7 separate regions of the Homo sapiens genome follow, and all the other regions are linked to region 4. Evidence: promoter capture Hi-C in 16 types of primary human blood cells and fetal thymus (Javierre and others, 2016). All regions are on one chromosome and are shown on one strand. The core of a region is centred on a gene start or on the middle of the fragment in contact, and the rest is flanking DNA. Distances in the headings are between cores, read along the strand shown. Region 1 has its middle 98 kb from the start of OPA1-AS1. Region 2 overlaps OPA1 (OPA1 mitochondrial dynamin like GTPase). Region 3 has its middle 88 kb from the start of LINC02038. Region 4 holds the start of CPN2 (carboxypeptidase N subunit 2). Region 5 overlaps OPA1 (OPA1 mitochondrial dynamin like GTPase). Region 6 has its middle 80 kb from the start of OPA1-AS1. Region 7 overlaps OPA1 (OPA1 mitochondrial dynamin like GTPase).

Region 1 (3,246 bases), core at 690-3,189, 630 kb after region 4:
GAGAGCTGGGGCTTACAAACTGCACGGCTGCACTTGTGGACGTGGAAAGTTCCATGAGGGTCCAGGAGAAAGGGAGGAGTCTAGCCTCCACCATGCCAGCCACTTCTTAGGCCGAGTCACCATGCTCAAAGAGCACTGCCTACAGCCCTCACCTCGTGGGGCCAACATCAGCCACACCCACCCAGGGACGAGATGGGAGATCTAGACCCAGTCGAATTGCCTCACTCAGAAGCTGGCTTTTTCTGCCTGATGCAGCTAATGACCCCTCTTTGTCTAGAGTGCCAGACTGTTTTGTGACCACACACATCAAGTTTAGTAGGGAAAGTAAGGGTGGAGATGGGGTAAAACGTTACTGAGCATTAAGCTAATATCAGGTGCAGTGGGAAGCACTTTAATAATAATTTTTGTTAAGCACATACTATGTCCTAAGCATGCTATTAAGCATTATATAAATATTATTTTGTTCTGTGTTCATAATAATCTTCCAAGGAAGATAGGAATATTATCATCTTCATTTTACAGACGAGACTGCTGAGATTCAGAGGGATTGAGTGACTTGTCTAAGCTTATATAGAATATAAGTGGTGACGCTGGGACTTAAATATGGGAATTGAATCTATATCTGTACAACATAGATGCCCAAATTTTCATATTTTTTTCTTTACGGAAGTATAACTGATGTACAACGTACTATACATATTTAAAGCATACAATTAATAAGTTCCCGCATCTGTGAAACTATCATCACAAACAAGACAATGAACATATCTGTCGCCCCCAAATTTGTCTCGTGTCCCCGTAATACCTTCATCCTGTATTCAGGCAACCACGGATCTACTATCGCCATTTATCAGCTTGCACTTCCTACAATGTATGGTTCCTAGAACCATATAGTATGTACTCTTTTAAAAAAAAATGTGGCTTCTTTTACTTAGCATAATCATTTTGAGATTCACCCATGTTGTTACATGTCTCAGTGGTCCACTTTCTTTTTCTTTTTCTTTTTCTTTTAAAGACAGGTTGTCACTTTGTCACCCAGGCTGAAGTGCAGTGGTGTGATCTTGGTTCACTGCAGCCTCAGCCTCCCAGGGTCAAGTGATCATCCCACCTCAGCCTCCCCAGTAGCTGAGACTACAGGCCTGCACCACCACATCTGGCTAATTTCTTTTTTTGTATTTTTTTGTAGAGATAGTGTTTTGCCATATTGCCCAGGCTGGTCTCGAACTCCTGAGCTCAAGCCATCTGCCCACCTCCGCCTCCCAAAGTGCTGGGATTATAGGCGTGAGCCACCGCACCTGGCTGGTCCATTTCGTTTGATAGCCAAATAGTGTTCCACTGTATGAATATACCAGTTTGTTTATCTGTTTCTCTCTTGCTAGACATTTGGGATATGTCTAGTTTTTAGCTGTTACAAACAAAGCTGCTGCGCACATTTGTGTACACATCTTTGTATAAAACACATGCTTTCATTTCTCTTGGGTAGACAGGAATGAAATGGCTGGATCATATGATAGTTTTGTATTCGATGTTTTAGGAAACTTCCAATTGTGTTCCAAAGTGGTTATACCATCTCACATTTCCACCAAGAGTGTATGAAGATTCCTGTTACTCCATATCTTTGTCAACACTTGGTATGGTCGGTCTTTTAGTCCTAATAGGTGTGTAGTGGCATGTCATCTTTTCAGGTGCTTGCTTGTTATTGTAGATCTCCTTTAGCAAAACGTCTATTCAAATCTATCGCCTACATTTTTTGTTTTGTTTTGTTTCTGTGCTTGTAAATTGTGCTTTAGTTTCTGCAATCAGATAGAATGCAGTGAGATACAAGCATAAAGCTTCACTGTGCATCCAGAAAATAAAAAGCACACATATGCAGATTGAGCTGAACGGCTTATTCCCTTAATAAGAAAATAAAAAGCACACATATGCAGATTGAACTGAACGGTTTATTCCCTTAATAAGAAAATAAAAAGCACACATATGCAGATTGAGCTGAACGGCTTATTCCCTTAATAAGAAAATAAAAAGTTTTGAATTTAAAAAAGCTTGTTAATCTTCAGTGTAAAAACTTGGAGGTATAAACAGTTTCAGTTCATTATACATGGTAAATTAATATACAATTCTCAAGTTGTACAGCATAGCATTGTAAGCAAAGTAAATCGTCTCATTTCAGTTTTTACTCTTAAGCATAATCCACACCTCAACCTTAGATAAAAATTTCACAATATATAAAGCCACTGAGAATTCTGTATACAAATGCAGGTTATAGAAATCTGATTTCAAATACAACTACAAAAATTGTCACGACCTTACATGTTACAACAGCTTACTTATTTTTCAATTATAATTTTTAAAAATTATAGAAAAGAATTTCACTGTAATCCCAGCACTTCAGGAGACCGAGGCAGAAGGACTGGTTGAGCCCAGGAGTTTGAGACCAGCCTGGACAACACAGTGAGACCCTGTCTACACAAAACTGTTACAACAACAATAAAAAAAATTAGCCAGGCGTGGTGGCAAGCACCTATGGTCCCAGATACTCAGGAGGCTGAGGAGGGAGGATCGCTTGAGTTCAGGAGTTTGAGGCTGCAGTGAGCTATGATGGTATCACTGCACACCATCCTGGATGACAGAGTAAGAACTTGTCTAAGAAATTAAAAAAAACCATCTCAATGCACATTCAATGGCTGTGACAAGGGCCATGATCTTGTGCCTTTAAATCATACTTTCTGGAGTATAAAGCATCACCCGTGTGTTTTAAATTGGGTTGTTTGATTTCTTATGATTGAGTTTTGAGAGTTCTTTATATATTCTGAATACAAGTTCTTTATCAGACACAGGATTTGCATATATTTTCTCCCATTCCGTGTGTTGCCTATGAATTCTCTTAGAAGTATCCTTTGAAAGACAGAAGTTTGATTTTGATGATATCCATTTTATCATTTGTGCTATTATGGATGGTGCTTTAGTTGTTGTATCTAAGAAATGTTTGTTTAACCCAAGGATGCAGAGTTTTTTTCCTGTTTCTTTTTTTTTTTAGTTTTATCATTATAGTTTTAACATTTAGCTCTATACTTCATTTCACATTAACTTATAATATATGTATATAACTATGTATGTATACATATGTGAACTGATGTGTATGGTGTGATAGTGAATCAAAGTTCATTGAGCGTATAGATGTCCAATTGCTTCAGCACCATTTGTTGAAAAACTACCCTTTCTCCACTAAATTGCCCTTGAACTTTT
Region 2 (3,318 bases), core at 73-2,572, 670 kb after region 4:
ATTGAAATGAAATATTCTGTACACAGGAGGTAACAATGAAACAATCTTAAATGGGTGATACAAGTGTGGAAACTGTGAGTTCAACAAAGATTTTGATTTATTTTCAGATGATAGATCCATGATGCATAGTTACAGGATATGAGAATTCACTGTGAATCCCCCAACCACTGAGGATGGTATCACGATGAGCAACGACCATGCAGTCCCATGAAATGTCCCTCAGCATCACAACCAGCAGTAGGTTACTTGGGAAAATATCTGTTACTTTTAAGATAGAGCACATCGTGTATTAGCTTCGTCATTTCCATGAATAGGATAATTAAGACTACAACATTTCAAAGTAATTCTGAATCGTGCTCACTGGGGGAGAAGGGCTGTGGGAGACACAGTTTAGAAATGTACAAAATAGTGCAAAATTAAAATTCTCTTCACATTTAACTAATTTCTCCAACTACCTGGAGAACTGTACTTAACAGAGGTTACCAGTTTCATGTGCATCAATCCACCAATCCCTTAAGATTTCCTATCTCGTTTAATTTTATTTTTTATATACTGTTGCAGAGTCCAATGAATTGTTTTGTGATTAGGTTTTCAATTACTACATTCTACTTTTTCTATCAAATATGCAAAAACATAATTTAAAAATAAAAACGCTTAAGATAAAGTTTATTCCCAACTTTAAAGGTATTAGATCACTTGAGCCCAGGAGTTCAAGGCTGCAGTGAGCCATGATCACACCACTGCACTCTAGCCTGGGCAGCAAGTGACACTCTTTCTAAAGAAAAAAAAAAAAAAAAAAGAAGTAAAAGAAAAAAAAATTGTGCACTGGCCTTTTGAATACATTAAGAGTATTTTCACAATAGTATATAAGTAAAACCTACATTAAAATGATAAATGGCAAATTCAATCCATACATTATTGTAGAGAACATTCTTGTCTTTATTCTTAATCAGTTAAAACTTGAGTTTAAAGCAAAAGAATATACTTGCTAGTAAAGTGTTGATTACCAGCAGCATGTATAATATTATAGAAAAGAAAATGTTCTTTTACGCTTGTACTAATTTATTGATATTCTTCAACAGTGACTTTTTTTTTTTTTTTTTTTTTTTTTGAGACGAGTCTTGCTCTGTCACCCAGGCTGGAGTGCAGTGGCGCGATCTCGGCTCACCGCAAGCTCCGCCTCCCAGGTTCACGCCATTCTCCTGCCTCAGCCTCCCCAGCAGCTGGGACTACAGGCGCCCGCCACCACGCCTGGCTAAATTTTTTGTATTTTTAGTAGAGACGGGGTTTCACTGTGTTAGCCAGGATGGTCTGGATCTCCTGACCTTGTGATCCGCCCACCTTGGCCTCCTAAAGTGCTGGGATTACAGGCGTGAGCCACCACACCCGGCCACAACGGTGACTTTTAAAGACAGACTTAGGCCATGAAAAATGTACTTCATTCTAAAAGACCCATTTTGAGTCTCGATTTTCTCATCAATAACCTGGAAACCACACCACTCAGGCGTTGTCATGTGGAATTCTGTGTGTAAATAACCACTTCTCTAACAGAGAGGACTTTCCTTGAGGATTACTTTATCTTTGTATCAACTCAGGTTTTTTTGTTTGTTTGTTCTGTTCCAACACAAAGCAGAGCCTACTTCATCTATACAGACTCAAGGTAAAAATAATTCTTCACTATCTTTCCTAGTTGCTTTAATGTGTTAACTGCCTTACTATAAAAAAAATTATTTTACAAAGCCCAGATTTTTAAAATTGCCAGATTTACCATGAAAAGATGCCTTAAAGAGTTCAAGTATTGCTACCATAAAACAAATACATTATTTATTCTGTAGTGAAGAGGAAAAAAAAATCAATTTTTCTGTCTCTCAAACATACACATTTCTACATCATATAATCATTCCAAAAAGTACTTGAATGTATTCCAATGAACTTAAAAATTCCTAATAAACATAAAAAGTTATTAAAGTTTCCTGGTGAACTGGGTAGACTGGCATTAGGAAATCATTGGTGATCTATCAATAAGTGGTTTTGATATAGATGAAAGCCAGACTGCACGATATTAGGAAGGGAGTGGGCAGAACAGGAGTGAATGCCACACAGGCAAGCTGCTCTACAAGAGAAATGAGCAGTAACTTTCTGGCAAGACAGAGTAGAAGAAAGTTTCCTTGGGATGAAAAGAGTTAGTTCCCCCCAACTTTTTAAGTCAAGAGAAGGGGGCTAATGAACAGTCTGTATTACAAGATCACAATCGAACATTCAGTAAATGTGTACAGTACAATATGTAACACACGAGGTATGGGGAATTTATGAATGAACCAAATCACTTTGGCAGAAGGGATCGACCGTGATAGACATGAAAATGTTTTTCTTCTTTAAATGGTTATTTTCATTGATTTACAGTTGCCTATAGTGAGAAGCCTCTATTCTGCTCAATTAAACAACACTGGCAGTATCTGAGTAAGGTTTTTAGTCACTGAAGGAAGGTAAATAAGCAGGTGGGATAAAAATACTGGGTTAGGTTGAAGTGATGATGATATAGAAGAGACGCAGTGAGAGAAGTGCATAAAAAGAAAGGGAAAAGGTTGCCTCGAGATGTGTTAAAAGCCAGGAGAGAGGAAATGGTGTTGTGAGCCCAAGAAACAGAGCAACAGTACTGAGATATGAAAGATGCTGCCGGGATGCTTCGAGCTCACACGTTCTCTTCGGGACACCCTGCTCTATTCTTCTTGATTGGGTGTTTTTTTTTTTTTTTTTTTTTTTCTTAAAAAAAAAAAATCTCCTCTGAACCTACATACCTAGAATTCTACAACTTGGTATCACCCTCTCTTCCTTTAAAATTCATTTTCTTTGGTTAAGTCTACAGAAACAAAAAGAACACACCAGTGCAGATGCCTTTAAAGTCCCTTTAAAGTTCATTTTCTTTGGTTAAGTCTACAGAAACAAAAAGAACACACCAGTGCAGATGCAGTTCAAATTGCTCACCAAATTTTCCAAAGTGACGTTGTGTCTCAGACTCTACAAATGAATGTATGTCAATTTTATCCCAATTAATAGCATGAAAAATTGTCTTGCTATGCACTGAAAGAACTCTTTGGAGTGCCAGCTCAGGGGCAGGCGGGTACACGGTAATCGGGGATGGCAAGAATCACCTGTGTAGCTTTGTCAAAATACACATGGCAGAGCCCCACCTCCGCAAACAGTTTTAAACACATCACTTCCCCTTTCTACACTTTTCAGTTCCAAATTCCGAGTACAATAATCTTTCTAGGAAAATTTCCATCTCATACTACTTCACAGACGATATTCTCATCCGTA
Region 3 (3,538 bases), core at 172-2,671, 600 kb after region 4:
AATTGGATCCTACCACTCTGCATCATCAGGAAGACTAATCTTGCAAAGAATTAAAAACACATGGGGATTTCTGTGTCTGATCCTGACATAGTAACTGGTACATAACTTGCCTTCACTTAAAACAACTACAAATGGGGAAAAACACATGAGGCAAATGTTTTCAGACACGGAGCAATAGGCAATAGGGGAATGTGATTTGGGAGACAAGTGAACTATATGACGTGAGTTCCATGGTCACCCCAGTTTTTTTCCCAAGGAAATTCTCCTGCTGCAATAAAAAGAGCTAAGGAGGCAGAGATTGAAGCTTTGGGATATAGACATGGCTGAAATTTGTGGGGTGGGATATCAGAAAAGAAGATACTGCACAGAAAATCAGGCCACTGAAGTCTGCATGGGGATGGACTGTGGGTCTGTGGCTGAGAACTCAGCTGCCCATACACAAGGCCTAGCAAGGGTCACATGCTGCAGGACTGGGAGCTGAACAGAGAAACCAGAAGTCCTGCTTTGCTGAGAGACGTTGGACTTCTGTCCCAAGCAGAACATTTTGAAGATTCAGTTGAGATTCTAAAAAGGTTATGCCTTGAGATGAAGAACCATGCTGTATAGTAAGGGCCAGCTCTAAACCTAAGCTCAATACAAAAATAGATCCCTTCAACAATGCAGGGATTAGAGGGGAAATGGAATAAAAAAAAATACGCCCACTTTCACAAAGAAAAAGAAACAACTCTAACAGGACCAAAATTATATTCCAAACACTTAACTGCCTTCAAGAACAAAATTCAATGTCCTTTAAAAGAAGGTGACAAAATCTGGACTCCCTATATTATCCATGTCAGAGAACAAACAATAAAAAATTATCAGACATGAAGATATAGGAAAATGTGACCCAGTTAAATTCAAGAAAAAAAAAATCAATCAATAGAAATAGACCCTGAGATGCTCCAGGTGTTAGAATTAACAGACCAGACTTCAAATGTAAAAGTTATTAACACATTCAGTGATTTAAATAAAAATATAGGAAATCTCAGCAGAGAAATGGAAACAATAAAAAAGAACCAAACAGAATTACCAAAACCGCAAAGAAAAATGTGTAGAATTAAAAATTCTACTAGATGAGCTTAATAGCAGATTGCAGACTACATGAGAATGGGTTAATGAACTTGAAAATAGGCCTTTTGAGATTGTTCAACTTGAAACAGTTTAAAGAGATAAAAAAGATTAAACAGATTCTCCATGATGTGTAGGGAAATACCAGGCAGTCTGACATATGTGAAATTAAGGTGTCAGAGGGGAAGAGATGAGAAATGGAACAGAAAAAAAATATTTAAAGAAGTGATGGCTAGAAAATTTCCCAGAGTTAGTGAAAACCATTAAAATACCAATCAAAAATGCTCAGTAAACACATTGAATCACAAATACACATGGTATACACATAAATACACATAGATCTACATTCAGGCATGGGATGGTCAAACTTGAAAATGAACAATACAGAGAAAAAATTTAAAAGTAGCTAGAGGACAAAAGCAGATTACATACAAGGCAAACAATGATATGAATGACAGCTGAACTCTTCAGAAACAATGAAGGCCCGGAATCAATAAAATGGATTTTAAAGTACAGAAGGAAAACAACAATGAGAAAATAATACTCTCTCAGCTCTGAAGTCTACATCTAGCAAAAATATCAAAACTAAAGGCAAAATAACAACATTCACCAAACAAAATCTGAGCAAACTTATCAGCAGAAATGTGCTATGAAAAATATTAAAGAAAGTACTTTATGCAGGAGGATAAAAGTAAAAGATAGAAACTCAGATCTAAGCAAAGAAATTTAAAATGTCATAAATAACAATTATGTAAATAAATATAAAGGGATTTATTTACTTTTGTTTAATTTACTTAAAAGATCATTGGCTGTTGAAACAATATTGTGGAGTTTATAATATTTAACAAAATAGAATGTATATCAACTAAGTGCAAAGAATGGAAGAAGAAAAATGCAGGTGTATTGCTATAAAGTTTTTACATAATACATAAGGTAGTAAAATACAAGTTGAAAGTAGACTGTGAGAAATTAAACATATTTATTGTAAACCCTAGAGAAATTACTAAAAAAAAAAAACAAACATGTATAGTGAATTCGAAATCCAGTAGGGCAGTCATTGAATCTTAAAGTTCCAAAATGATCTCCTTTGACTTCATGTCTCACAACCAAGTCATGCTGATGCAAGAAGGAGACTCCCATGGCCTTGAGCAGCTCTGCCCCTGTGGCTTTGCAGGATCCAGGCCCCCTCATGACTGCTTTCATGGGCTGGCATTGAGTGCAGCTTTTCCAAGCACATGGTGCAAGCTGTTGGTGGATCTACCATTCTGGGGTCTGGAGGACAGTGGCCCTCTTCTCACAGCTCCACTAGGCAGTGTCCCAGTGGGGACTCTGTGCCAGGGCTCCAACCCCACTTTCCCTTCCACACTTCCCTAGCAGAGGTTCTCCATGAGGGCCCCTGCAGCAGACATCTGCCTGGACATCCAAGCTTTTCCACATATCCTTTGAAATCAAGAAGAGGTTCCCAAACTTCAATTCTTGACTTCTGTGCACCCACAGGCTCAACACCATGTGGAAGCTACCAAGGCTTGGGGCTTGCATACTCTGAAGCAAGGGCTTGAGCTGTGCCTTGGCCCCTTTTAGCCATAGGTGAGGCTGAAGCAGCTGGGACACAGGGCAGCAAGTCCCTAGGCTGCACACAGCAGTGATGTCCTGGGCCAGGCTCATGAAACCATTTTTCCCTCTTAGGCCTCTGAGCCTGTGATGAGAGGGGCTGCCATGAAGTTATCTGACATGCCCTGGAGATATTTTCCTCATTGTCTTGGTGATTAATGTAAAGCTGCTCATTACTTGTGGCAAATTTCTGCAGCCAGCTTGAATTACTCCCCAGAAAATGGATTTTCTTTTCTATCTCATCATCAGGCTGCAAATTTTCCAAACTTTTGTGCCCTGCTTCCTATTTAATGTTTTTTTTCTTTTTTCTTTTTTTTTGGTGAGAATGATGTCTTTATGATATTGAGTATTTTTATCCTGGAGCATGGTATAGCTCTGCATATTTATTTAGGTTTTCTTTAGTATCTGTTAATAAACTTTTACAATTTTCTCCCTAAAGAATTGGCACCTCATTTGTTGGATTAATGTTTTGTTGTTTAGATATTTCTTCCGCCAGATGCCCCAAATTATGTCTCTCAAGTTCAAAGTTCCACAGATCTCTAGGGCAGGGGCAAAATACTGCCAGTCTCTTTGCTAAAGCATAGCAAGAGTCACCTTTGCTCTAGTTCCTAAGAAGTTCCTCATCTCCACCTGAGACCAGCTTAGCCTAGACTTCATTGTCCAGATCACTATCAGCATTTTGGTCAAAGCCATTCAACAAGTCTCCAGGAAGTTCCAAACTTTTCCACAGTTTCCTCTCTTCTTCTGAGTCCTCCAAACTGTTCCAACCTCTGCCTGTTACCCAGTTCCAAAAACACTTCCACATTTTTGGGTATCCTTA
Region 4 (3,386 bases), core at 708-3,207:
AGGGGGAGCTGGGCACACTGTTCACCGCCTGTCTCCATCCCAGAGGCTCCCGCTGTCCTCTGCCAGAGTGCATTTGTGGCATATCGCCACTGAAACACACTTCCTTGCCACACTCCATTAGACCTTTGCAGTTTGGCTGATGCAATCAGCTCACGTGCAAAAGAAACATTAATTTGTACTCATAAAAAGCGTAGATAAAAATCAATACCATGCAATGAGTGAAAAAGCCATCAGTCTACTTTAAATGGTAGACTCCTGGCATTGAAACGATCTTAGACTGCTCGTCCAGGTCACCCCTTCACCCTGCTCGCCTCCACACACCCACTCCTACGCTCTCACCACACACCCACATACATCCTCACACTCACACTCACTCAGTGCACACTCACACATACCCACTCACCACACACCACACACACACATACCCCAACACACTCACACCTACTGCACACACGCACACCCACCCATTCACCACACACACCACACACCCACACACTGCACACACACACCCACTCACCACACACATACACCCACACACCCACTCACTGCACACTCACACCCACTTACCACACATTTTCTCACACACTCTCATTCTACACACACGAGACATACTCATGCATATACACACCCACTTATACCACACACACCCCTACACCCACTTACACACACCCACTCACACATACACCCACTTACACACACTGCACACCTACACACACGCACTCACCACACACACCCCTACACCCATTCACACATATACCCACTCACACCCCCCACACCCACACGCACGCACTCACCAAACACTCCCCTACACCCACTTACATACCCATTCACACATACACCCACTTACACACGCACTCACCACACACACCGCTACACCCATTCACACATATACCCATTTACACACACACACCCCACACCCACACGCATGCACTCACCAAACACTCCCCTACACCCACTTACACACGCACTCACCACACACACCTTTACACCCACTCACACATACACCCACTTACACACACATCACACATGTGCTCTCACCACACACACTCCTACACTCACATACACACGCCCACTCACATATACACCCTCTTTACATACCACACCCCCACACACGCACTCACCACACACACCCCTACACCCACTCACACATACACCCACACACGCACCCACACACGCACTCACCACACACACACCCTACCCACGCGCGCACACACCCACTCACACATACACCCACTTACACACACAACACACCCCCACACATGCACTCACCACACACCCCCTACAGCCACTCACATTTACACCCACTTACATGCACACCCCCAGATGCACGCACTCAGCACACACACACTCCGTGTGTCTTGCAGCCCTGGTTCCACACCTCCGGAGATGGGAAAATCCCTCCCTTCCAAAGCAGCATCTTTCGTCCTCGGCCAGCCCTGAGTGTGTGAGCGCTCCTCTCCATATTGGGCCCCAATTCATCTCCCTATAGCTTTTCCCCCTTCTAATTCAGGAAGGGTTTAGAAAGTTCATTCATTAAACAAGCAAACAAACACAACAAGACAAAACAACAAATCCACAGCCCTCTTGAAATGCCTCCGGGCGCTGAGAGCCCAGCAGGGGCCTGAGGCTGAAGGCAGGCTCCCAGTCCCTCTGCCTCTGCTCACAGGTATGGGTGTGAGCGTGGACCCCATCCCAGGCCTCACCAACCCAGCCGCCTGCGGGAATCTCTAGAGCTTTCTGAGTGTCCTCGGGGTCCTGAAGGTGCCAACCCTGCAACCTCGGTGGGATTTTGGCCCCGGCAGGGCTCTGTACATGGGAGGAGTTCAGGGTCATTTTGTAATCTTCAGAGGCCTTGCCAAGGCCCTCTCCCGTCCTGTGACCCTGGTGACATTCTGGGACGCTGGGGCCACGTGAGGGGAGGAACCACTGCCTGGAACTTTGATCAGCGCTGGGGCTGGATTGAGCTGACCACAGGCCACACCAGACTCCTCTCTGCTCCTGAGGAAGACAGGGCAGCCCGGCGCCACCCGCTCGGCCCTCACGGTAGGCTCCCGGGGTCGCTGAAGGGCTCCAGGGTCTGCAGGGACGTGGGGGCAGGAACGGGAACTTGCGATCTCCCCCGTTTCAGAGCATTCCGCAGCTCCAGGCAGGCTGCGGTTCTGGGGGGCCCCTGCCCCGGGAGGAGAAGTCCCTGAGGTGCTCAGCTAGGGCGCTGCTGGGAAGAGGCAGGAGGAAGGTGGGGCGGGGGTTTGTGAGATGAAGATCTGCCAGTCCTGGCCTACAAGGCTGGTAGTGAGTAGAGGATAAGCAGGGTGACCAGATGTCCAGGTTGGCCTGGTTCTGCCTAGTTTATACTTGTCATCTTGGCATAATAATAATAAATAGTATTACTAATTACTTATTAATCCTATATTAATACTAAATATTATTAATTATTTATTAATATAATTATTGTTTTTTGAGATGGGGGTCTTGTTATGTTGCTCAGGCTGGTCTTGAACTCCTGGCTTCAAGCGATCCTCCCACTCAGCCTGCTGAGTAGCTGGGATTACAAGCGCATGCCACAGCACCCAGCTCAGGCCCAAGGATGACTAGCTCCTGGTTTCCTTCCCAGAAGCGTGCTGGCTCATATAATAAAGTTTGTGGTGAAATAAACCTGCAGGGGGCCACCTTTTATTGAACATTCAGTATGTGCCAGGCGCTGTGTTAAGGGCTTTCTATTTACTATCTTATTTAGCCTATTTATCATCCAATGGAGTGCTAATTTGAACTCTGAGGGCAGAGGTGATAATTAAGTCTGGAAAACCTGAGGCTTAGAGAGTTGGAGTGATTTGCACAAGCCCACACCGCTAGTAGGTGATGGCGTCAGAATCTGATCCCAGCTGGGGGCACTGGCGGAGCTAAAGTGCTTTCCCCTGCTACTAAGCAGGATGAGAGTAAGGCCTGAGATGCGAAGTCACTGAAAGCCACAAACACATTCCTTCAATTCAGCACACAGGGCCTGACTGCCTTCTCAGTGCCTGGCCCCGAGCCAGGTGCTGGGGTGCAGAGCTGCTTGCAGAGACACCACAGCAAGACTGCAGTACCACGGGCTCAGTCGGGTGGGTGCAACTGACTAGAAAACAGAGCGGAAGAGCCCAAACATTCAACACAGTACAAGAGGGATCCGAGGACCCAAGAAAGGGCCGAGCGCGGTGGCTCACGCCTGTAATCCCAGCACTTTGGGAGGCCGAGGCAGGCGGATCACCTGAGGTCAGGAGTTCGAGACCAGCCTGGCCAACACAGTGAAACCCCATCTCTACTAAAAATACAAAAATTAGCCAGATGTGGTGGCAGGCGCCTGTAATCCCAACTACTCGGGAGGCTGAGGCAGGAGAATCGCTTGA
Region 5 (2,500 bases), core at 1-2,500, 720 kb after region 4:
ACTTATAATATGCCTTTTATAATAAAAAATATTCCTTACAATTTTTTTAGCTTATTGGAATCTTTCAAGAACAAAGTAATTAACAGGAAATCATGGTTCTATCCTTACAGCAAGTCCAACTCAAGCCAAATTAAAAGAACGCATACATAATTGAACACCTACATAGTATGAGACAGGCAGAACTACTGGCTAGACTCTACTATAAACATATTTTTACATAAACTCACTCATTTATATCTAGTAATAGTATATTTAACAAAATTCTGGTAGTATCTAAGGATTAGATCTGTGTTGTTTAACACGGCAGCTACTAGCCACATGTAGTTATCAAGCACCTGAAATGTGGCTGGCCTGAAGTGAGGTTGTGCTGTAAGTGTAAAATACCTCATTCATATTTTTTATACTGATCACATGTTGAAATGATACTATCTGGGATAGACTGGGTTAAATATATTATTAAAACTAATTCCACGTTTCTTTTTACCCCTTTTTAATGTAAAAATTAAAAATTACACAGGTGGCTTGTATATTTCTATTGGACATCATTGATATAGATAACCCAGTGAATTCTCCATAATACAGTCTATCAGTGCCTAGTGACTGACAATTACAATTGCACAAATTGAAGGGTTTGTATCAAGGCATATAAGAGGGTAGAATTTCCACTGGCTCATTTCTTTGTAAACACAAAATCAATTTTGGGGTCTACATTTTCTGGGGATGGAAACATTTTGGTACAGATGCCAATTTGTAGCCATCCTGAAGAGATGTGCTATTGAGCTGTCTCTCAAAGCTCTAGAACAATAATTCTCAAACTTTAGAATGCATCAGAATTATCTTGAGGGCATTTAAAAACAGATTGCTGAGTTTCATCCCAGAGTTTCTGATTCTTCAGAAGGTATGGGATGGGGTCAAGAATGTGCATTTCTAATGTGCTCCAGAGGCTATGCTTTGTGACCAATGACTCTTACCCCTGGTTGCAGATTGGAATCACCTGGCTAGGAACCCTTAAAAACATAGATATAGTGCCACTCAGAGCACAGGTGAGTCTAGCGTATAGTGAGGTTTGAGACTCAATAAATAGATACCAAAGAAACCTGTGACTCAAAACATACTACTGACTGATTATCCCTAATTCAAAAATCTGAAATCCAAAACACGCTGGCCCCAAGCACCTCAGATAAGAGATATTCAACTTGTAGTCGTTTCACTTTTTCACAAAAAAGAGATCCAAGATTAACTCTTTTTCTTATTCTTTTTTGTTTTCTTCCAGACAGGGTCTTGCTCTATTGGCCAGGGAGCAATCATGGCTTACAGTAGCCTTGACCTCCTGGGGCTCAAGTGATCCTCCCGCCTTAGCCTCCCAGTTGCTGGGACTACAGGCACAACCACCACACCTGGCTAATTTTTAAAAAAATTTTTATAGATACGGGGTTTCTCCGGGTTGCCCAAGCTGGTCTCAAACTCCTGGGCTCAAGCGATCCTCCTGCCTCAGCCTCTCAAAGTGCTGGGATTACAGGCATGACCCACCATGCCCAGCTGATAGTAACTCTTTGAACTTTAAAAAATAAGTTAATTAATGCATGTCAGTGTCACCTATATAGAAAAACTGATGATTGAGTAATAGGGTAACTTTTTTTTCTTTTTGAGATGGAGTCTTGCTCTGTCGCCCAGGCTGGAGTGCAGTGGCGCCATCTGGGCTCACTGCAAGCTCCGCCTCCTGGGTTCACACCATTCTCCTGCCTCAGCCTCCTGAGTAGCTGGGACTACAGGCGCCTGCCACCACGCCCAGCTAATTTTTTGTATTTTTAGTAGAGAAGGGGTTTCACTGTGTTAGCCAGGATGGTCTCGATCTCCTGACCTTGTGATCCGCCCACTTCGGCCTCCCAAAGTGTTGGGATTACAGGCGTGAGCCACCGTGCCTGGCTGTGATAGGGTAATTTTGTACTAGAATGTTACCCACTCATTACATTGCACAAAATAGGTCCTTAAAGTAATAATTTTATCACCAACTATAAGAAAATAGCTTTTCTAAGTAGTGCCAGAAAGAGCTTTAGATAAGCATTGTCTGACTGCTTTCAGACTTGCGAAGCAAAGTAAAGGTTCCTGAGAGCCCACTAGAACGATGTGGTAGACTCAACTCGAATTTCTTTAACTGTATTAGCTTATCAATGTAAAAATGCAAGCATAAGTTTATATAAGGACAAGCCACTTTCTCCCTTTTGGGCATAAGATTCACTCAAAATAGGTTTTTACATATAAATGAGTTAACTCCATACTTATCTAGTTCTGTCTTTATTCCTTATTTCTCAATTAGCTTTTGCATCTATCGATAATAATAAGGTTCTATCATTACACCTTCCAAATTTTGCTCTGTTGAAAAAATAAATGTCCATATCACCAAAGTTACATTCGAATATAATTTTTAAAAGTCCCTAGTTTTTCTTAGTCATCATGATTACCTGAGTGTGCAGAAGTTCTTCCTGAAGTTGGTCAATTT
Region 6 (3,151 bases), core at 473-2,972, 640 kb after region 4:
GTCACATGCACAAAGAGGGCCAAGTTTAGGGTGCTACAGGAGAATATCAAAAACTTAGATTAGTCTGAGTTGGGAGCTAGGTCAGGGAAGGGCTCCCAGAGGAGGTGATATTTCAGCAGAGCCCTAAGGATAAGTAGCAGTTGGCTAGGCAGATGGGAGTTCGGGGTTGAGAAGAGGACGTACAAAAGCCCAGGGTAGCATAGAGTGTATTTATAGACCCGAAAGCTCAAGTGTCTGAAGCACAGGGAAAAAGGAGGCTGGAGAAGGCAGGGGCAGATCTCACTGGGCCCTGAAAACCCTTGATGACTCTGAACATTATCAGGACAGTGCCAATCCATACCATGGCTTTAAGCAGAAGAATAACAATCATCTAGGATCTGGCTATAATACAGAGGCTAAGCCAGAGGAAAGCAAGAGAGCAAATGAGTCAGGAGGCCCTGCAGATTATGACTAGGGCCAAGATGGTGACAGTGTGGACGGAAAGGCATGGATGGATTTGAGATGCTTGGGTGTCTAATTAATAGGCCATGGTGGAGATTTGATGTGGACATGGGGTTGGGGGAAGAGTCAAGGGTGACCCCTAGTTTTTGGTTTGAGCAAAAAGGTAAATGATGTAAATGATATTCCCATTTAGTGAAACAGAGCAGAGTGAAGTGAGTACAGGTGGGCAAGAATTATAATGACTTTAGCTATAAGGTATCTTTGAAAAGTACAAGTGATAATGTTGAATAGGCATCGGGAAGCACTGGCGATTAAATGAGAGTTGAGGCTATGGGAGTGGATAAAATCTAGGAAGAGAATATCGGTTGGAAGAGCACCAGAACAGAGCACTGAGGAGGAAGAACAGCCAGGAAGGTAGGAGGAAGAACAGCCAGGAAGGTAGGAGGAAAATCAGAAGTGTGTGCTGTAATGGAAGCCAAGAGAAGCAAGTACTTCAAAGATGAAGTGGTCAACGCTACAGAATATAGTAATGGGTGAAGTGAGATATGGCCTGAAAACTATCCGATGAATGTAATGACATGGACACCACCATGTCCTTAGGGAGAACAGGTCCGGTGGAGTCGTACAGCTGATTTGGACATGCAACCAATATACCAGGTATCACTGCCATTTGCTGGCCTGGCTTCTGGCACTTGCCATTGACATAAAATATATCCCGATTTCAGGTAAAGAAGCCAACAGGTAATTTTCATGGATGGTGCAGAGCTTCAGATATTTTAAACAAAGGGTCTGATCCTATAGCTAAGCCTCATAGTACAAAGCAGTGATTGACAAATGTTTAATGTCTTGAGAATTATTGAGTACCCCAGGAGTTTTTGTGTAGGTTATGTCTGTTGATATTTATTATATTAGAAATTAGAACTGGCTGGGTGCAGTGGCTCATGCCTGTAACCCCAGCACTTTGGGAGGCAGGGGCGGGTGGATCACTTGAGGTCAGGAGTTCGGGAACAGCCTGGCCAACATGGTGAAACCCCATCTCTACTAAAAATACAAAAGTTAGCCGGGTGTGGTGGCATGCGCCTGTAGTCCCAGCTACTGGGGAGGCTGAGGCAGGAGAATCACTTGAACCTGGGAGGTGGAGATTGCAGTGAGCCAAGATCATGCCCCTGCACTCCAGCCTGGGTGGGTGACAAGAGTGAAACTCTGTCTCAAAAAAAAAAAAAAAAGAAAAAAAAAGAAAAAGAAAAAAGAAATTATAACTGAGAAATATTACTCAATTTATTTAAAAAATAAAACAATTACATGTTAACATAAATAACATTTCTGATGAAAAACAAATATAGCAACAAGAGTAGTACCATCTTTCATTTTTGCAATTCTTTTTAATGTCTGGCTTGATAGCAGATAACCGGATTATCTTACCTGCTTCTGCATTCAATCTATTGTGATATGCTGTTTTGGCTGACACAGATATAGAAAACCTGGCCTCACACAGTTACGGAATTGAAAAAGAGAAGAATGTAAGAGCCATTTCAGGTAATTGTGAGTCTTCTCTGATACTGCACCCACACTTAAAAAAGGTTAGTTGTAATGTGGCATCCGAAACCATATCAATGAACTTCTCCATATTCTGTGACCTAAACTCCTCTGGTCCAGCTCCCATTTTGTAGGCATCTTTACCCATGCCTGATTTGTTACCACAACGCATTAACCATTCGAGAAATACCAGTTCCCACGGTTATGCAGATCCTCCAACTGTTGACACTTCGCACTTTACAATATCCAAAAATCACATCCACTAATATCATTATCTCATCAGAAATACATACACTGAAAAGCTGTCAAGCTCAATGACAAGCTCAATATAAGTTTTTCAAAATGTTCATTTTTGCTTAGATGTGTAATTTGTATCATTGGCAATAAATGCACAGAAGTGGTTTTCCTTGAAGTGGCTGGCTCACTCCGCTTAGTTTGAGAAAATGGCTGCCAGGTGACCAAGTCTGACTTATGTAGTTTGTCAGTGATTCTTTTAAGCAAAATGGTGTTCCTTGAAAAAAAAGTGGTAATTTACGTCACCAATTAAACAATTATACAAGTACTTTTCCTCAAGATCACCAATATCCTTTATATGCACATGTTTTCTGTGTACCAGGCTTCTGTGTTTTTTTTGGAAAAAAGGGGAGTGCACGGCAGTGAAGATGACATAGTGCCTGTTAGGACCGGCAGTGCCGTTGCCTTGATTCATGCCGAGGCTCCAGTGTGGTGTGCTGTGGTTTTTCTACAACCAGTGAATGTCAGCACAGTGAAAAGGGCAAATATTAGTATTATTATCAAAATCATGGTGACCTTGTGGACCATGGAAATAATCTTCAGGACCCCCAGGGACCCAAAGACCACACTCTACCAACTGCTGGTGCAGAGTAAGCACTGGCATCTAAGAAGGCAATTTCCTCATGGAGAAACTCTCCAGATGCCAAAAAAGGCAAAGATTTTCCCCTGGAAGTGTTTTATATCTTTAGTAAAGCTCTGTAATAAATACTTCAGAAGTTTAGTGCCAGAATCAAACTATTTAATTAAATGTTTAAAATAATACAATAATCAGTTCGATTTATTCCATCACAACGAATATCTTATTTACCTTGTGGACATATTTTAAAGATTAAATGAGATAAAAAAGCTCTATGCCAATTAAGGGCAGTTTTATATAAAA
Region 7 (3,683 bases), core at 469-2,968, 690 kb after region 4:
TTATCTGTAATTATTCATAATCTCTTTACCAAAGGAGGAAAACTTACCTACACTAGTTATGTTTGATAACAAGATTCTTATACTGTGTTAAATTAATCTTGTCATTTTTCAAACCTCCACTCAAAATTGTATATGATAGAAGAAACTAGCTTTAAATTCAATCATTACCCTAAATAAATTACTAGAATAGAAAATCTACCACAGCTACGAAACTGAGTGTTTTTTTTTGCCCCAAACTCTATCACAGCTATGAAATCTGAGTAGACAAGATTAACACATAAATGCAAACAATTAACTTGTAAATGGAACTACTAATTAATACTCTCTGAAAACTAATACTTCAGAAAAAAGAGCATTTGATAAAGAGAAAGTTCACTGTTTGCTTAAACATGTACTATTCAGTCTGAGATGGAAAGGAAATCGCTGGTAATGGTGTTCCCAAGCTCATCCTGCCTCATGTTTTACTTCCCCCTTTCTACCCATCATTTGACTGTCACCACACTTGGCCATTAGAAGAGAGAACTACTCTTGGATCTATCCTGACCAAAATTTCCATTAGTTTGGCTTAAACAAGGCGAGAATGTTTCAAAGGGATGAATTTTCCTAGAAAACAAAAGAAACACAAAAGCACAAAATACTTTTCAGAGAATGGATTTCTCATCTTTAAGTTTCTTTTCCTGCCAAATCCTGTCATTCAGCTAAGTGAACTTACGATGTGAGACCTAGGGATATTCTCAACCTCTTCTAGAATCCATGTCTCACTGTAACCTCCAGGTATGAGGTTGAAAACACTTGTCTTCAACTGGGAGTGGGAGGGATAGAAAGGATAGAGAAGGAGAGCTTGACTCAATGAGTCTGACATGAGGCTAGCTTTTGAAGAAAAAACAAAACACTATATATAAACACCTCCCCGGGTGATTCAGATGCCCCTCCCTTCTATATTCCAAATTATGGCCTCTGTTCTACAGTCAGCCTGGGTCTCACACATGCTGCCCTGAAATCCTGTGGGGAGAAGGCTCTTCTGTAAAGGGTTTCCAGATTCCTCTTCTAGGCTTACAGACCCTTTGCACTGACTTTAAAGCAAATTCCTTTCTTTCTCTTGAAGGGATTCCCCTATGGGTTTAAGTTCCTGACAAAAATAACTTACGAGCAGGAATCACTTCTTTCAGAGAGTGTTTGGCCAAAGCACATTTACCACCAGTCAGTTGCTGAGGCAAGTTCTGCCACCAACTGTTCTAGAGACTTTAGGCCTAATATCACTAAGTCTTGAAGGCCAGATACCATTTTTCTTTTGCAGTTTATCTCCCTTACAGCAGCTCTTTCTAATCAATGCATCTTCCTCTATCAAAGTCAGAAACCTTGGATGGATCTCTAGAAATTCTCTTCTGACAGACCTCCTTCTCTCGGCCCATCTGTAGAGCAGAGATAACCAACGCACCCTGAACACATGCATGACCCAATCACTAACTGTCTGCTTCCTCAGCTTTGCTTCAGTCTCTTAATGGCTCATTTTTCACAAAAGTCATTACCAAAAAAAAAAATAGTAAAGAAACACAGAGAAAAAGAAGACTGTCTCTTCATTATTTTGAGGAAAGTTGAGACTCACATCTGATAGAGAACTTATGAAACAAGAAATGTGGGAAACTAGGAAAAAAATAGGATATAGATTATACAATTAACTGTATTTAAAATGAAAATGAAAATATAAAATAAAGAAATAGGGACATCTCATTTGGTCAATTTTTATTCCCTTTGTCTCCTCTATTTTTCCATTACTTGATCTCCTTTCTCTAAATGAATTCAAGGAACAAAGCAAACAAGAAAAGAAAATGGATTGGATGCTAAATCTTTTTCATCTTCATTATTTCATTAATTTATGTAGTTAGATTCTATATTCTATTTAGATTCTTTCATTTAAGGAATGAACAAGGAATGAGACAGTGGTATAAGACTGAATGCTAGATAGGAAAAGAAGCTATAAGAATCGGAAAGGAATGAACAGGGGTGGAGGTGAGGGGTAGGGACTTTAATGGTAGATATAGATAAGATAATAAAATAAGGCAAGAAAAATTGTATCTTTTCCCGCCAATCATATTCATTGTACATCCTCTGAAAACCTTACTATTTTTTTCTATTCACAAGTTATTTTCCCTGCAGCTTCGATCTCCCAGGCTCAAGCAATCCTTCCCACCTCAGCCTCACTAGTAGCTGGGATAACAGGTATGCGCCACCACACCTGGCTAATTTTTTTTGACTTTTAGTAAAGAGGAGGTCTTGCTATGTTGCCCAGGCTGGTCTCGAACTCCTTAACTCAAGCGATTCCTCTGACTTGGCCTCCCAAAGGGTTGTGATTACAGGAATGAGACACCGTGCCTGGCCTGTTCATAACTTTAATCTTCCTTTTTACCTCAAACAGGGAATTGAAATGAACAATGTAATCAACCACAAAAGGGGCATGTTTCATCTCTTGTCTTTTAACAACATGGCTACTTCACTTAAAAAAAACTTTCTTATGTAGTTTATTCTTTATTCTAAAGATTCATTATATTTTAGAAAGTATGATATAAAACATTTAATATTCCTGAGACTGGTCTAGAGCCACAAAAAGGTTATATTTTAATGCCTGAATTAAAATGAACAAAATTATATCATCATAAGACTAGAGACTTGTTTATTTCTACCTGTTCTTGGGTCCGATTCTTCCAGTATAACCACCTCTTTTTCCAGTCTGGACCCACCATGTTTTCAATTGCATTTTCAGCTAGAAAAAAAAATTAATTAATCAAGAATTTTATCACTTACACACACACAAATTATAACTAATAATGGTCTTGCTTTCTTAACTATTTCAAAGTGCTATATCAATATGAAGGCAGTTGAAATAAAGGAAAAAACCCACATGACTGATATGGCACATGTGTAAGAGTTTAATTATATATGTGTTTAAGATACCTAAAAGTATAATTGCTTATAAAATTCCTATAAGTACAGTAGCGAACACACTAAAATATTCTGCATTATAGCTTTATAGAATATAAATGCATATAAGCATCATGTGTCCATTTTATTCATTGGTTTTAGTAGTTACAAAGCAGTTGACTAAAAAAATTCCACAAATAATATTCGACTATAGTATTAATGACAAAGACTTTGAAATGTTCAATCTATTTCTACAAATGTTCACTAAAGTTGGATGACTCCTTCACCACTGTGAACTCAGAACTCAATAAGCCGTGTCTCCACTTACTATCCTTGAGACGAGCCTGCAGAGCCTCTTCCATAAAATAAATAGCTGCATCCCATTGCTGTTTATCAGATATGGATCGGTCTTCCAAAGCATTGTGTTGAATAACCCTCTGAAAATAACAAGAAGAGAAAAAGCCAACTTGTTTTACATCTCATCATTTTAGTAGTTTTATTCAAATTGACAGCTTAGTAAATATGGAAAAATAACCATGTATATAAACCAGCATAAAAATATATCCTTCCTATAAAAATGCATAAGCTTCTTTTACTTGCCTGCTTATTTGTTAGCTTGCTATCTAAAAAATAAAGAGTGGAGATTCTCTCCTGGCCCAAATTAAACAAGCTAACCATATGGGGTGCGTGGGTAATATTACACATTTACATTATACAAAATATTACAAATTTAACTACATGAAATGCAACATCTAGAAACCTAA

Evidence for each region. Contacts are between HindIII fragments. The CHiCAGO score rates a contact against its expected background, and 5 or more counts as called.
Region 1: a fragment that was not itself captured here is called in contact with the fragment with the promoter of CPN2 in region 4 in 3 of 17 cell types (M1 macrophages, total B cells and naive B cells); the score reaches 9.6 in M1 macrophages.
Region 2: a contact is called between a fragment that was not itself captured here and the fragment with the promoter of CPN2 in region 4, in 4 of 17 cell types (total B cells, naive B cells, naive CD4 T cells and 1 more). The highest score is 8.4, in total B cells.
Region 3: a contact is called between a fragment that was not itself captured here and the fragment with the promoter of CPN2 in region 4, in 1 of 17 cell types (M2 macrophages). The highest score is 5.4, in M2 macrophages.
Region 5: a contact is called between a fragment that was not itself captured here and the fragment with the promoter of CPN2 in region 4, in 1 of 17 cell types (total B cells). The highest score is 5.2, in total B cells.
Region 6: a fragment that was not itself captured here is called in contact with the fragment with the promoter of CPN2 in region 4 in 1 of 17 cell types (naive B cells); the score reaches 5.4 in naive B cells.
Region 7: a contact is called between a fragment that was not itself captured here and the fragment with the promoter of CPN2 in region 4, in 3 of 17 cell types (naive B cells, naive CD4 T cells and endothelial precursors). The highest score is 12.5, in naive B cells.

Annotation. Positions count from the first base shown.
Region 1 is chr3:193,724,149-193,727,394 of GRCh38, reverse strand. No RefSeq gene overlaps it. Among named protein-coding and RNA genes, the nearest start is that of OPA1-AS1, 98 kb to the right of the region's middle. The HindIII fragment of the contact is 210 bases long and covers 1,835-2,044 here.
Region 2 is chr3:193,674,773-193,678,090 of GRCh38, reverse strand. All of the region lies in intron 29 of OPA1 (OPA1 mitochondrial dynamin like GTPase), which reads right to left. LOC102724808 (a long non-coding RNA gene) reads left to right here. Exons shown (of 5, transcript XR_924835.3): 2 at 108-237. Among named protein-coding and RNA genes, the nearest start is that of OPA1-AS1, 49 kb to the right of the region's middle. The HindIII fragment of the contact is 7,050 bases long and covers 1-3,318 here.
Region 3 is chr3:193,754,147-193,757,684 of GRCh38, reverse strand. No RefSeq gene overlaps it. Among named protein-coding and RNA genes, the nearest start is that of LINC02038, 88 kb to the left of the region's middle. The HindIII fragment of the contact is 2,229 bases long and covers 307-2,535 here.
Region 4 is chr3:194,349,899-194,353,284 of GRCh38, reverse strand. CPN2 (carboxypeptidase N subunit 2) reads left to right here and starts at 1,957. Exons shown (of 2, transcript NM_001080513.4): 1 at 1,957-2,043. RefSeq lists an enhancer at 1,632-2,481. The HindIII fragment of the contact is 6,903 bases long and covers 1-3,386 here.
Region 5 is chr3:193,631,628-193,634,127 of GRCh38, reverse strand. OPA1 (OPA1 mitochondrial dynamin like GTPase) reads right to left here. Exons shown (of 31, transcript NM_130837.3): 8 at 2,463-2,500. Among named protein-coding and RNA genes, the nearest start is that of OPA1-AS1, 5.5 kb to the right of the region's middle. The HindIII fragment of the contact is 5,274 bases long and covers 1-2,500 here.
Region 6 is chr3:193,705,503-193,708,653 of GRCh38, reverse strand. No RefSeq gene overlaps it. Among named protein-coding and RNA genes, the nearest start is that of OPA1-AS1, 80 kb to the right of the region's middle. The HindIII fragment of the contact is 8,669 bases long and covers 1-3,151 here.
Region 7 is chr3:193,658,560-193,662,242 of GRCh38, reverse strand. OPA1 (OPA1 mitochondrial dynamin like GTPase) reads right to left here. Exons shown (of 31, transcript NM_130837.3): 24 at 3,248-3,356; 25 at 2,682-2,761. The region is part of intron 4 of LOC102724808 (a long non-coding RNA gene); the gene reads left to right. Among named protein-coding and RNA genes, the nearest start is that of OPA1-AS1, 33 kb to the right of the region's middle. The HindIII fragment of the contact is 3,578 bases long and covers 1-3,507 here.